3 separate regions of the Homo sapiens genome follow, and all the other regions are linked to region 1. Evidence: promoter capture Hi-C in 16 types of primary human blood cells and fetal thymus (Javierre and others, 2016). All regions are on one chromosome and are shown on one strand. The core of a region is centred on a gene start or on the middle of the fragment in contact, and the rest is flanking DNA. Distances in the headings are between cores, read along the strand shown. Region 1 holds the start of DRAXIN (dorsal inhibitory axon guidance protein). Region 2 overlaps UBIAD1 (UbiA prenyltransferase domain containing 1). Region 3 has its middle 71 kb from the start of UBIAD1.

The links. The method cuts DNA at HindIII sites, captures the fragments that hold promoters and counts their contacts. A CHiCAGO score of 5 or more calls a contact.
Region 2: a fragment that was not itself captured here is called in contact with the fragment with the promoter of DRAXIN in region 1 in 1 of 17 cell types (endothelial precursors); the score reaches 5.7 in endothelial precursors.
Region 3: a contact is called between a fragment that was not itself captured here and the fragment with the promoter of DRAXIN in region 1, in 1 of 17 cell types (naive CD8 T cells). The highest score is 5.8, in naive CD8 T cells.

The regions. Positions count from the first base shown.
Region 1 is chr1:11,689,402-11,693,713 of GRCh38, reverse strand. DRAXIN (dorsal inhibitory axon guidance protein) reads right to left here and starts at 2,004. Exons shown (of 7, transcript NM_198545.4): 1 at 1,861-2,004. It also overlaps a transcript of MAD2L2 not described here. RefSeq lists enhancers at 2,689-3,196, 3,197-3,706. The HindIII fragment of the contact is 12,625 bases long and covers 1-2,835 here.
Region 2 is chr1:11,279,230-11,283,541 of GRCh38, reverse strand. The region is part of intron 1 of UBIAD1 (UbiA prenyltransferase domain containing 1); the gene reads right to left. It also overlaps the pseudogene UBE2V2P3. Among named protein-coding and RNA genes, the nearest start is that of UBIAD1, 8.2 kb to the right of the region's middle. The HindIII fragment of the contact is 1,166 bases long and covers 1,851-3,016 here.
Region 3 is chr1:11,341,682-11,345,993 of GRCh38, reverse strand. No RefSeq gene overlaps it. Among named protein-coding and RNA genes, the nearest start is that of UBIAD1, 71 kb to the right of the region's middle. RefSeq lists an enhancer at 1,889-2,389. The HindIII fragment of the contact is 1,744 bases long and covers 1,296-3,039 here.

The sequences.
Region 1 (4,312 bases), core at 755-3,254:
GGTATGAAGGGCCGGGTTCACCAAAGTAGGGCCTGTCTGCCAGGTCGGATTTCGAGCAGGAGCCTGGATGGGGGATGTCGTGGGGATATCCAGCCGTTCTTGCCTCTAAAGAGAAAGGTTCCAGTTGCCAGCCCTGGCTGTGGCTGAAATAAGAACTCAGCCAGGGGAGCCTGGAACCTGCCAGCTGGGAGGTTTCCCTCTTCTGAAGTTGCCCTCATTAAGACACTCAGGCCACGTCACTGCCAGACTCCTGGAGTGGTGTGTCACATGTTATGACCACCTAGACAGTGGTCAGGGGGCTTGGGCAAGCACACAGCAGGTCCAGGAGCCAGCAAGACAATCCCCTCAGAGGAAAGGAAGTGGCCTGTGAGCTGGTGCCGCTATTAAAGGCATCAAGCCAAGACTGAGGTTCAGAATTGGGGGTGAGTCACCGGACGCCTTCTGATGGGTGATCAGTTGTTGGCAACACCAGCTCAGCCACACTGATCTCATTTTGAAAAAAAGTGACCCATTGGCCCTGATTGTTTTAGCTGATTTTAGGACAAGCAAAGAGGAGGAGAGAGAGAAAGAGAAGAGTGCTTGCAAGGGTGTGGACGCCTGTATGGGCACGAGGAGGTGAAGGTGACAGGAAGTGTGATGGGGGAAGAGGCTGTGGTGGTGGGGTTACTCTGAAGTGTCTCTAAGCCTTGACTTTGAGATCCATTTCTGTGGAGCCCCCTGTCCCCACCCCATCCCAGGTCTGTAGACTCCCCTCCCCTCCCCTCCCTTCCTCCACAGGGTGTGTGAACCAGCACCAAGCGGCACCCCACAATTTCCACACACATCCCTATAGGTAGGGACTAGCACCATCCCTGTTTTGTGACAGGAACACTGAGGCTCAGAGAGGTGCATTCCTTTGTCCGAGATCACTCCCAGAGCCCCAGTGTACCCGACTCCAGATGCATAGTACTGAACCGGTTCCAGACACCAGTGTGTCACTGGGCTGGGAGGTGGGCAGCGTGGAGGGAGCATATAGGGCAGGGGAGACCACCGGGCGGAGAGGATGGCCCAGGGAGCACCCAGCTGAGGAAAGCAAGAAAGACTTGGCGGGAAACCCCAGCCCTCTCTCATCTCATACCCCGGCCCCGAAGGCGGCTGAGACCCTTGACGAGCGGACGGAGAAAAGCCAAAAGCCGGCGGTGGGGAGCAGGAGGGACAGAGCGGGAGACCACAGGCGAAAGACCAGCGCCGTCGGGGGAGCCAGGCTGAGTACCTTCCTGGGCACAGATGGGACGGCGCGGGGCCACCGGCGGTGCTGGTTCCGGGCGCACTCAGCGACCCCGGCCACACACCCCAGCCTCCTGGGCGGCCTCGAAAGGGGCTGGAGGGCACGCCCGCCAGCTCTGCCCGGGGCTCAGGGAGTCTTCGAAGACTTCTTCCAACGGTGGCGGACTGGGGCCCCCTGCCTGAGAGACCACCCGGAGACTCAGAGACAGAGAGACAAAGGGAGACTGGGTCAGGGAGAGAGAAGGCTAGTGCCGAGGAGAGTAGGTGCGAGCCGGGACCCCAGAGGGCGGCGAGGGCGCGCGCGAGGCCGAGTGTCAGAGCGTGGAAAAGTGGGCGTCCAGCGGTAGGTGGACGGATGGGGAGCCCGGGAGCAGAGCCAGGGTCCGTGGGCAGACGCGGCGAGGAGAGGAGGCGGCGGAAGGACTGGCGGATAGACGGGTCCGAGGGCTGGGAAGGAGGCAGCATCCTCACTTCCAGCCTCGGGACCCCGCGCACCCCGCCCCTGGGCGCGCCAGGTAGCCCACCTTTGTCCGGGCTCGCAGCCAGGTGGGGCGGGAGGGGCGGAGCCAGGGGCGGGCCGAGGCCGTGCCTTACCTGTCCGGCCGGCGGGTAGGGGGAGGAGGGGCTCGGGGCCGAGCGCCCGCGGGAGCCGAGCGCAGCCGAGGGCGAGCCGCGGAACGGGGCCGGCGTGGAGAGGTGCGCGGGCAGCCGGAGGATGTGCCCGGGCTGAGCGGGACTGGAAGGAAGGGGGAGTGGGCGGGCAGGAGGGAAGGGGGCGGGAGCGCGGGGAGGGGACAGAGGAGGGGCGGCGGGTGGCGGGCTCGACTGCCCCCAGCCGAGGGGCAGCCCCGGGGCCGGGCCCGGCGCGCACCCGGCCAGCGCGCCCTCGCCAGCTGCGCTCTGAGTTCTGGGCCAGCTCCCCAGAGGCCTAGGCGCCGCCGCCGCGAGGGCGCGGGGCAGACAAAGGAGGCAGACAAAGGCGGGCGCAGCCCAGCAGCCGTGCGGGCACCGGGCGAGGCAGGCCCACTCCTCCCGGTGCGTAAGAGCCGCCTCGGCGCGGCCCAGGGCGCGTGGGACGGGAGGGGCTCCGGCAGTTGTGGCGCCTCTGGAGCGGCCCCGCGCAGGGCGGGCGACAAAGGGCCGCGGCGGGCGGTCCTCGGTGGACCCCAACAATGGAGCGAGGCTGCGCGCTCAGCTGCGGCCGCGTCTGTCAGGGCAGGGGCCCGGGGCCACAAAAGGATTATTCCGCCTAGACTGTCAAAAGGGACGGAAGAAATGCCCAGGGCGGGGGAGGCGGGACGGGGAACGGCGGGGCCTTTGTAGCCGCAGAAAGTGCGCAGAGTGGGCAGGCGGGGTTCTCCGAGAGGTCGCTCCTGGATGTAGGGGTACAAAGGGTCTTCAAAGTGCTACCAGCTCACCTGGGGCGCTGACGGCGCACCTGTGCCCTCTTTCCCGGTAGGGAAGGGAGAAAGACAACCGCCCCAATACACACACACACAAACACACACACACACACACTCACACGCGGCGCGGCTCTCGCCACGCCCCGTCCAAAGCCGGCCTGAAGCTTCTCAGACCGGCCCAACCCGGACAAAGCCAGCGCTGGGGCCGGCTCATCCATCACCGCGCGGGGCGCCGTGTCCTGACGACCCTGGGAGTCTGAGAATGCTGGGTTATGGGTCCCGTGCCTCCCATAACTCACGACGGGGTCGGTGGGGCCACGGACGCTGCAAAGATCAAAGAGCGATGGGGCCGGACTCCCATATGTGGGAAGCAGCGCTCCCACCTGGCGCCCTGAGCTCGCCAGGTGGCTTCCATTTCGACTGTTTTCTTTCTCCAGCGTGTGGCAAATTATGACTTTGAGGTTTTAGAACACAGTTCTGCCGTCAGGCTAAATGTCTGTGTTCCTCTTCTGATGCCGTCCCCTATGACCTCGAGCAAGTCGCCTGACCTCTGAGCTCATGATTATACCTAAATTTCAGTGTTCTAGGCGTGAATGCAGTGCCCTGTGTAAGGAGATAACGTTTCTAAGGTCTGGCCCATAGGAAATGCTCCTGTAAAATTAGCTGCCATTGTTACCGTGATATTATTAGCTTGGTGGGCACCAGGATGGATTGATGAGAACACTGAACTGTTTATTCACTGAAAGGTTTGAGTCATCCATCCCATAAATACCTATTGAACACCTACTATGTGCCGGCACCGGAGGTACAGTAGTAAACAACATGGACAAGAATCCCTGCCCCCATGGAGCTCAGATTCTAGTGAAGGAGACAGAAGATAAGTGAACAAATAAATATAAATGATGTCAGGTGGTGATTAGTGCTATGAAGAAAAGTAAAGCACATTACAGACAAAGCATGAAGGGACGAGGTGTTGTTTTACATAAAGTTATTAGGAAAGGCCTCTTTGCTGGGGCAGTTCTTTTGGCAAAGAAAAGGAGGTAATGAGCCACGTGGTTGTGGGGAGAAGACTTGCAAGCAGAAGAGCCACTGCAAAGGTCCTGGAGCGGGAGTGTGCTTGGTGTGTTTGGTGGAGAAGAGTCAGTCTGGAACAGAGTGAGGTGACATCAGACAGGGAGCTGGGATAGGACCATGTTGTTACAGGAAAGGGGTCCTGACCCAGACCTCAGGAGAGGGTTCTTGGATCTCGCACAAGAAATAATTCAGGGCGAGTCCATAGAGTAAAAAGTTTATTAAGACAGTAGAGGAATAAAAAGAATGACTACTCCATAGACAGCACAGCACCAAGGGTTGCTGGTTGCCCATTTTTATGGTTATTTCCTGATGATGTGCTAAACAAAGGGTGGATTATTCATGCTTCTCCCCTCCCCCCGCCTTTTGTTTTTCTTTTTGAGAGGGAGTCTTGCTCTCACCCAGGCTGGAGTGCAGTGGCACAATCTCAGCTCACTGCAACCTCCACCTCCCGGGTTCAAGCAATTCTCCTGCCTCAGCCTCCCGAGTAGCTGGGATTACAGGTGCACACCACCATGCCCGCTAACTTTGTGTTTTCAGTAGAGATGGGGTTTCACCATGTTGGCCAGGCC
Region 2 (4,312 bases), core at 1,184-3,683, 410 kb after region 1:
CCTTCTATTTGGATAATTTTTATACCAAGCCATGTTTTCATAAATAATTTGGTTGTATGAGGACATGCCCTCCAGGAGGAAGTTCCCTCAAGCAGAGCACGAGCTCCAGTTCAGAATTAGTAAATTGACGTCTCTTCCAATATCTCACACATTTAAGGGACTACACCCACGCAAAGATGATGCTGGGCAGGAATACTCCCAGCACAGACCTAGCCAGTTCCTCTACAGCTGCCCACTCTTGCTGTGCTTGTTTTCTCAGCTCCCCAAGTGACGCCACTGGTCTGGCTGTGAAAGAAAATGCAACAGCACTACAGCCTTGACCTTTGGCTGGAGTCTCCAAGAACACCTCCTTAGATCACTCGGCAAAAAGCAATGTAAGCGGCCAGGTATGGTGGCTCACGCCTGTAATCCCAGCACTTTGGGAGGCTGAAGCAGGTGGATCACCTGAGGTCAGGGGTTCGAGACCAGCCTGACCAACATGGAGAAACCCCATCTCCACTAAAAATACAAAAAATTAGCCGGGTGTAGTGGCGCATGTCTGTAATCCCAGCTACTCGGGAGGCTGAGGCAGAAGAACCGCTTGAACCCTGGAGGCAGAGGATGTGGTGAGCCGAGATCGTGCCATTGCACTCCAGCCTGGGCAACAAGAGCAAAACTCCGTCTCAAGAAAAAAAAAGGCCAGGCACAGTGGCTCACGCTGTAATTCCAGCACTTTGGGAGGCCACAGCGGGTGGATCAACTGAGGTCAGGAAGTCAAGACCAGCCTGACCAACACGGAGAAACCCCATCTCTACTAAAAATACAAAAAAAAATTAGCCGGGCATGGTGGTGCACGCCTGTAATCCCAGCTACTCGGGAGGCTGAGGCAGGAGAATCGCTTGAACCAGGAGGCAGAGGTTGCAGTGAGCAGAGGTCGCACCATTGTACTCCAGCCTGGTCAACAAGAGCTAAACTCTGTCTTTTGAAAAAAAAAAAAAAAAAAAGTGATGTAAGCAAGGTTGAGCAGAGATCTCTGTCCCCACCCCAAAACCAAGAGCAACCCACTCTGGGGAGGAAAAAGATCTGGTTATCTGACACAAGAAAACAGTAGAGCCCTTGGGGAGAAAGCTGTTTCCTAGCATTTGATACATGGCCCAAGGCTTCATGTGCTCTACCTGATTCAGAGACGTGGCCCATCTGGGAATTTCCTTTTAGGCATTCCTCCTCTCCCAACCCCATTTTCTGAATGAGCTTACACAGTGAAATACTGGGCCGGTTCTCCACACGGCAGCCAGAATGAATCTGTTAAGACTTAAGTCAAAAAGTTGGCAAGACGCAGAGCAACTGGAACACTTGCTGGGGGGAGTGTAAAGAAGTACAACCACTTCAGAAAACAGTTTGGCAGTTTCTCATAAAATTAAACATCATCTGCCCTGTGACCCAGCAATTCTACTCCTGGGCATTTACCCAAGAAAAATGAAAACAAATATCCACAAAAAGACTTGAACATGAATGTTCAGACGTAATAGCCAAAATATGGAAGCAATCCAAATGTCCCTGAAAAGGAGAATGGATAAAAAGAAGTTGTGGTATGTTACAATGGAATGCTAGTCAGCAAAAAAAGGAACTACTGATACACGCAATAAAACAATGAATCTCAAAAACATCACGCTGAGCAAAAGAAGCCAGACGAGAGCTCAGACTGAAATAAATACACATACATACATACATACATAGTTCATAGTGAAAGGTTCCATTTATATGACAGGCAAAACTAATCTCTGTGAGAGGAATCAGAACAGTGGTTCTTTTCCTGTCTCTGGATGGGGGCAGGGAGTGTGGGATTGACAGGCAAGAAGCACTGGGAAGCTTTTGGGGGTGATGGAAGTGTTCTGGATGATGACGGGGTGTGGGTTATGCAACTGTATACATTTATCAAAATTCATCAAGCTGCAACACTAAAAACCTGTGCATTTCACTGTGTGTCAATTATATGTCAATAAAAGACAATGTTTAAAAAATCTTAAACCAGATTATGTCACTACTCTGCTCAGTATATTTCAATGCCTTCCCATTTGTTCACTGGATATTTACTAAGTAATATTACATGCCAGGCAGTGCTCTGGGTGCTAGGGGTTCAGCTAATACCAGAGACAGAAATCCCTGACTGCAGGGAGGGAGCTCGCAGTCGAAGGGGGAAGATAATTAACCAATTAAGTACTTTATATGGCACATTAGAAGGTAACATGTGCTATGAGGAAAACTAATGCAGAGAAGAGCAGCAGGGGAAGTATCAGGTGGGGGCACGGAGTGGGTGTGTAATTTTAAGCAAGGTAGAAAGCAAGGCCTCACTGAGCAGCTGACATTTGGGCAAATAGGTGAAGGAAGTGAGAAAGTGAACCACATGGTTAGAAGCAGGAAAAGCATTTCAAACAGAGGAAGCTGCATCTACAAAGGACCTGAGGGAGGGGCAGGAGGGGTTGTGCATGCTCCTGGACTAGAAAGGGCAGTGTGGCTGGCCCAGGATGAGCAGGAAGAAAGGAGGAGGGTGGGTCAGAGAACTGGGGGGAGGGCAAAAGGTGGGCAAAGAATGTAGGGCCCTAGGGAGTCACTGTAAAGACCCTGGCCTTTACTCTGAGCAAGATGGGAGCCACTGAAGAGTTCTAAGCAGGACTGACAGGGCTGCCCTATATTTTAACAGAATTACTCTGGTGGCTGAGTGGGAACAGCCTGAATGGGACCAGAACAGAGGTAAAGAGACCAGTTGGGAGCCTGCCGCAAAAATCCAGGGACAGATGATCACAGTGGTGGCTGGACACGGTAAGAAGTGGTCAGATCCTACATGCATTTTGAAAGGAGAGTCAACAGAATTTGCTGATGAACTGGATGTGAGACGTGGGAGTCAAGGACGATGCCCACAGCTTTTGGCCTGAAGAACTAGGATGAAGCTGCCATTGAGCAAAATGGGGAAAAAGCTGTGGGCGAAGCAGGTTTCCTTGGGGAGAAGATCAGAATTTGGTCTCAGACATGTTAAGCTTGAGATGTTTATGAGACAGTTCTAGGAGAAGTTGCTGAGCAAGAAGTTGGATATGAGTCTGGAGTTTAAGAGTCACTAGCTTAACAGATGGCATCTGAAGCCATGAGCTACATCACCAAGGGAGTACATGGAGATAGAGAAAAGAGGCCCAAGGACTGAGCCCTGGAGGTTGGGGAGTAGGACTGGTTAAGATCGCCATGACAGAGACCCTGCCTAACTCACCAACTGTGTCTCATGCCCCCTCTGGCTCACACAGACCTTTCAGTAGATCCTAGCCAATGTCACACTCTCTCTCACCCACCACATTTGCACTTAGTGGTCCTTCAGCCCTGGAGGACTCAGCATCACAATCAGACTCCAATTCCACCCCGTGGCCAGCTCCTTATCCTTCCGTCTTCAAGTCCTAGTTTGAACGTCACTTTCACAAAGACAGCCTCTTCCCTTCACCACCACCTTGTACTTTCTATTACACCACCTCATTGATTTCCTTCACTGAACTTTTTATAATTAGCTGCCAGGCCACCACAGCCTTTTGATTTTCCTCTTACTCCTCTGGATGCTTGCTCACATCCCCTTTACCTGTGCCTTTTCTTCCCCCACCTCTAATGTGGGAGTGTCCCAGGGCTCAGACCAGGACTGACTTTTCTACCAACACTCCCTCCCCCTTGATGACCTCACCCAGTCCTACAACTTTATCTATAGACCAATGACTCCCAGATATGTAATCTCTAGCCCAGGCTTCTCTGAACTTGAACTACCCATTTGACATCTTTGTTAGGAGATTTAATAGACATTAAGATGTCCAAAGTTGGCCAGGCGCAGTGGCTCATGCCTGTAATCCCAGCACTTTGGTAGGCCAAGGTGGGTGGATCACCTGAGGTCAGGAGTTTGAGACCAGTCTGGACAACATGGTGAAACACCGTCTCTGCTAAAAATACAAAATTAGCCAGGCATGGTGGCAGACGCCTGTAATCCCAGCTACTTGGGAGGCTGAGAATCACTTGAACCCGGGAGGCAGAGGCTGCAGTGAGCCGAGATCATGCCACTGCACTCCAGCCTGGGAGACGGAGTGAGACTCTGTCTCAAAACAAACAAAAAACAAAACAAAAAACCACGAAGTCAATTGCTTGCTTTTCCCCCAAAACTTGTTCTATCCCCAGCCTTGCCCTTCTCACATGATGACATCACTCCAGATGGTATCTTCCAGTTCTCAGGTCAAAACCTTTGAGTTATGCTTATGCAGCTATTGATAGGCAATGGTATGATTAACTGGGGCCTTAAAGATGATGAAGATAT
Region 3 (4,312 bases), core at 918-3,417, 350 kb after region 1:
GGAGTCCTGACACTGCAAGGACTGGTCCACTTCTCATCCTCCCACCCCTTCCCCAGCCCCGGTGTTTCATCAAGCACTCCTAGTCAAAGATAAAGAATCCTTCCCGGCCAAGCGCAGTGGCTCACGCCTGTCATCCTAACATTTTGGGAGCCCAAGGTGGGTGGATCACTTGAGGTCAGGAGTTCGAGACCAGACTGACCAACATGGCGAAAGCTTGTCTCCACTAATAGTACAAAAATGAGCCAGTTGTGGGGGTGCATGCTGTAATCCCAGCTACTTGGGAGGATGAGGCATGAGAATCGCTTGAACCCGGGAGGCAGAGGTTGCAAGATCGTGCCCCTGTGCTCCAGCCTGGGTGACAGAGTGAGACTCTGTCTCAAAAAGAAAGAAAAAAAAATACTCCTTCCCTCCCTGTGTGTCTCCGAGTCCCCTGCTCCCCTGCCCACCACCTTTGAAGGGGAGCTCGGCTGGGGTTGTGGACTCAGGATCTCATGCATGGGAAACAGTCCTGTTCCTCAGTCCCTCTTCCTGGACAGAAGGCAGGAAGATCTGACCTCTTCCCATCATGGGATTCCCCGGGGTGGTGTGAGGGGTCAGGGAGTAGATGAGTCAGGAGGACACAGTGTGGCCCCGCAGGTCCTGTGAGGCTGGTCCCAGCTTACCCTCCAAGCCCCCACCTCCTTCCCCGTGGCCTCCCATTCCAGGCTGCACCCCCATTTTGCTCTCTCTCTCCTCTAGGCCTTTGTTCTTGCTGTTTATGCTATTTCCTTCACTTGAAACACTTTTCCCTTCCCCGCTGTTACCTGGCTGGTGCCCTCGGGGTTGGGGAAGCTGCCAGCTCCCCTAGGGCATCTTCCCCAACCGTTAAGCTGAGTTGGGCCCCTGCCTCTGGGCTTCAGGGACCTGGACCCCCCAGTTCTGGCACTTCTTCCACTGCACTGTAACCATCTTTGTGCTAGTGCTCCCTCCACCTCCCCAACCTGCCCACCACACATTGGATTGTAAACTATGTGACCTTGGCAGGCTTTGGCCCCCGAGGGGTTTGAATCCAAGCTCTGCCTCTTACTAGCTGTGTGAACTTCGGTGAATTACTTAACCTCTCTGTGCCTGGATCTCCTCTTCTGTACAGTCAGAATGACAAAAATAGAACGGACCTCATAGGGCTGTTGTGAGCGTTTAATGTATTCAGCCAGTGAAAGTGCTCGGCCCAGTGCTTCTCAGAGCTCGGGAAGTGGTCAGTCCCTCATCCCTCCTCTGCCATTCCAACATCCCCAAAGCTCTGAGACCAAAAAGCTTTTCAAAACTCATTTGGCAGCAAAACCTAAACTGAACTGACCTTAGAGATACTTAACAGTCTGTATCCCACTATTCACATGTATTTCGCTACAGAAATATGAATATGTTGGAGTCGTCTGTAATATAGGGAACATTACATTAATAAAATCTGAAAACAATTTTGAAATCTGAAATGCACGTGGCCCCAACAGCTTCTTTGCGGAACTGTGGCCGACAGCACTCTCATGATTTTCATGAAGGATAGCATGTTAATATCAACTGCCTGAGAGCCAGGACCGTGCGTGTCTTATTCAGCACTGGGCCTGGCACAGAGCAGTTCTCCATAAACTGGGTGACAGTTGGGACAGTGACTGGAGCTAGCCCTGCTTCCCTGACTTTCTAGGAGGCTGTGCCCTGCCACCCATCTCCTCGGAGCCCCAAGCCCAGGCCCAACCTACTCACTTCCCCCAGGTCACCCCTTGCTGTTGGTGGCAGAAGCGGGGTTGAAACCTTCCCCTCACCTGCCTCCCTGAGGACTACCTGGGTTTGCGCAGGGAGGGGATCACTCATTCCAAATCTCAGCTGAGGAGCAGGAAGCTGCCTGGGGAGCTGCCACCACATCCCTGCTTTCCAGGCCCCAGGACAGGCCCACTCTTCCAGGAAGGCATGAGGCTGCTCTCAGACCTTCCCTGCCCTCTCCCCACAATGGCACATTAGGAGGAGGCTGGACGGGAAGGACTCGCCAGCTGAAATTAAACTAAGCACCAATCTGGCCAGGTGCAGTGGCTTACACCTGTAATCCCAGCACTTTGGGAGGCTGAGGCGGGCGGATTGCTTGAGGCCAGGAGTTCGAGACCAACCTGGCAACATGGTGAAGCCCTGTCTCTACTAAAAAAAAAAAAAAAAAAAACAAGCCAGGCCTGGTGTCAGGCACCTGCAATCCCAGCTACTCAGGAAGCTGAGGCATGAGAATTGCTTGAACCTGGGAGGTGGAGGTTGCAGTGAGCCAAGATCATGCCGCTGCACTCCAGCCTGGGCAACAGAGCAAGACACTGTCTCAAAAAGCAAACAAACTAAGCACCGATCTGTGCTGGGCCCCAGTGTGTATTGATAGGTATAGATATGCACAGGTATGGATTAGCTATATATCTAGACATGGAGGATACAAGCAGCTACAAACACCTTCACCTGCTTAATCGTCACATCAAACACGTGGGTGGGTGCCATTAATGTTCAGTGGGTTCTAATGAATAAACCCACCACCTCCTCCACCAAGTTCAGATCCAATCAAGAGAGAGACACTGAAATCCCATGGATAAAGGTCCAAATGGCAGTTTGAACATCTACCAAAAGCTGAATGGCAGAATGTGACAGGGTGGGGAAGTCTGAGAGCATTACGCCCCTGCTCATGGAAACACGAAGCCCATTTTGTAGATGAGGAAACGGAGGCAAGTCAATGAGGAACAGGAATTTGAACCCAGGTTATCCTGTCTCCAGGTATCAATGTAAATCTGTATCTAGCCTACCCCTAGATCATCTACATGCCTCGGGATCTCCAGGATCCAAGGCACAATGATTCTGATAGCAAAAGAAGCCAAGAGGAGTGGAGCCTGCAGCAGAGCCCTGGGGTCTAGGCAAAGGCTGGTCCATGATTTCCCTCCTGGCTCCTCCCCTCCTGCTCCTCTCCCCACCTCCCCTCTTCTCCCCTGTCCTTATCCTTCCCTGTCAGATCACTATCATTCATTTCCCTCTGGTTACCAAGCTTGGCGAGGCAGCTTTCCTGGTTCCATGTCTGATCTGCATGCCTGAGCCAAGAAAAGGACTTGCTTTCAGGAGCCACTTCCTCCTCCAGCTCATTAAACAGCTGGTCCCCTTGTCTGGGTTCAACAGTCAAAAGCCTAATCCATGTCTGGCAGCTGGAACAAATCCTACCAGGGACTCAAACAGCCCCACCTGTGGGGAGAGTAGGAGACCCAGCCGCTCGCTGGAAAGCCAATTTCGAGACAGCGCTCTCTGAGGCTGCACTAATTTTGTCTCATGTTCCAGAGCTGCAGTCACTTTATAAATCCGGCAGAGAATGCTGCCAAGGGTTCAAGAACAGGGTTCCAAGACCCGAGATTAGGCCAATGCTGTTCCCTATCCCCCAGGAAAGGCCCCCCAGGACAGCTTGCCCCTGCAGCAAAAATGGCCAATGCTTCCTTTTATAAATCAACCCCATATGGGCTTTCCAGGATTCTGAGGTTGCATCTGGGCTCAGCACGAAGGAGTCCTGTGATTGATTAGGGATGTCTGCCACAGCTGCGGCCTGGGACCTGGTGTGCAGAGGCCATGTGTTCACTTTTTCAGTACTCATGATTGCTCTGGCAATGGCCCTATGATTGTGTCACTCTGGGACTGGGGTGTGTGTGTGTATGTGTGTGTCATCTTGAAATATATACGTTTACAAAGCTGCTTATAAAGCAGTGGTCAACTACAGCCCTTCCTCCACACCATATGGCCCATACGCCTCCAGCAAGCACAGAACCTCCTGGAGTTTCATTGCAACATTTACAAAATGAAGATGAAGCTGCCAGGTTGGGACAAGTTTGCATGCATGAAACTCCTCTCCACTTATGGCAATAAAGGATTTTGTAAGTTATAAAGTCATGGCTGCATGCCATGGATCAGAAACAGAGCAGAACAGCCAGCGGTAAACAGGAGATGGAGCCTCGGGCTTGCTGTTCTCTAGGTCCTGAACAGGTAGGAGTGGCAGGAGATCCAGTTCACCCAGGATGCTGGAACCAAAGGGCCTCCCAGGGCAGGTGAACTCCACTAGCAAAATTCTGCAAGAGCGCCGCGTGGGCCAATAGATAAGCCTTTACAATGAACTATGTGTTTCCTCTTCAATGGCTTCTCCGCCCACTCTCCCCACCTGGGCTCCAATCCAACCACACTCACCTGCCTCAGGGCCTTTGCAATCACTGTTCCCACTGCCTGCATGCTCCACCCTTATATCCCCTATCAGCTCACTCCTTCACTTCATGAAAGTTTCTGCTGA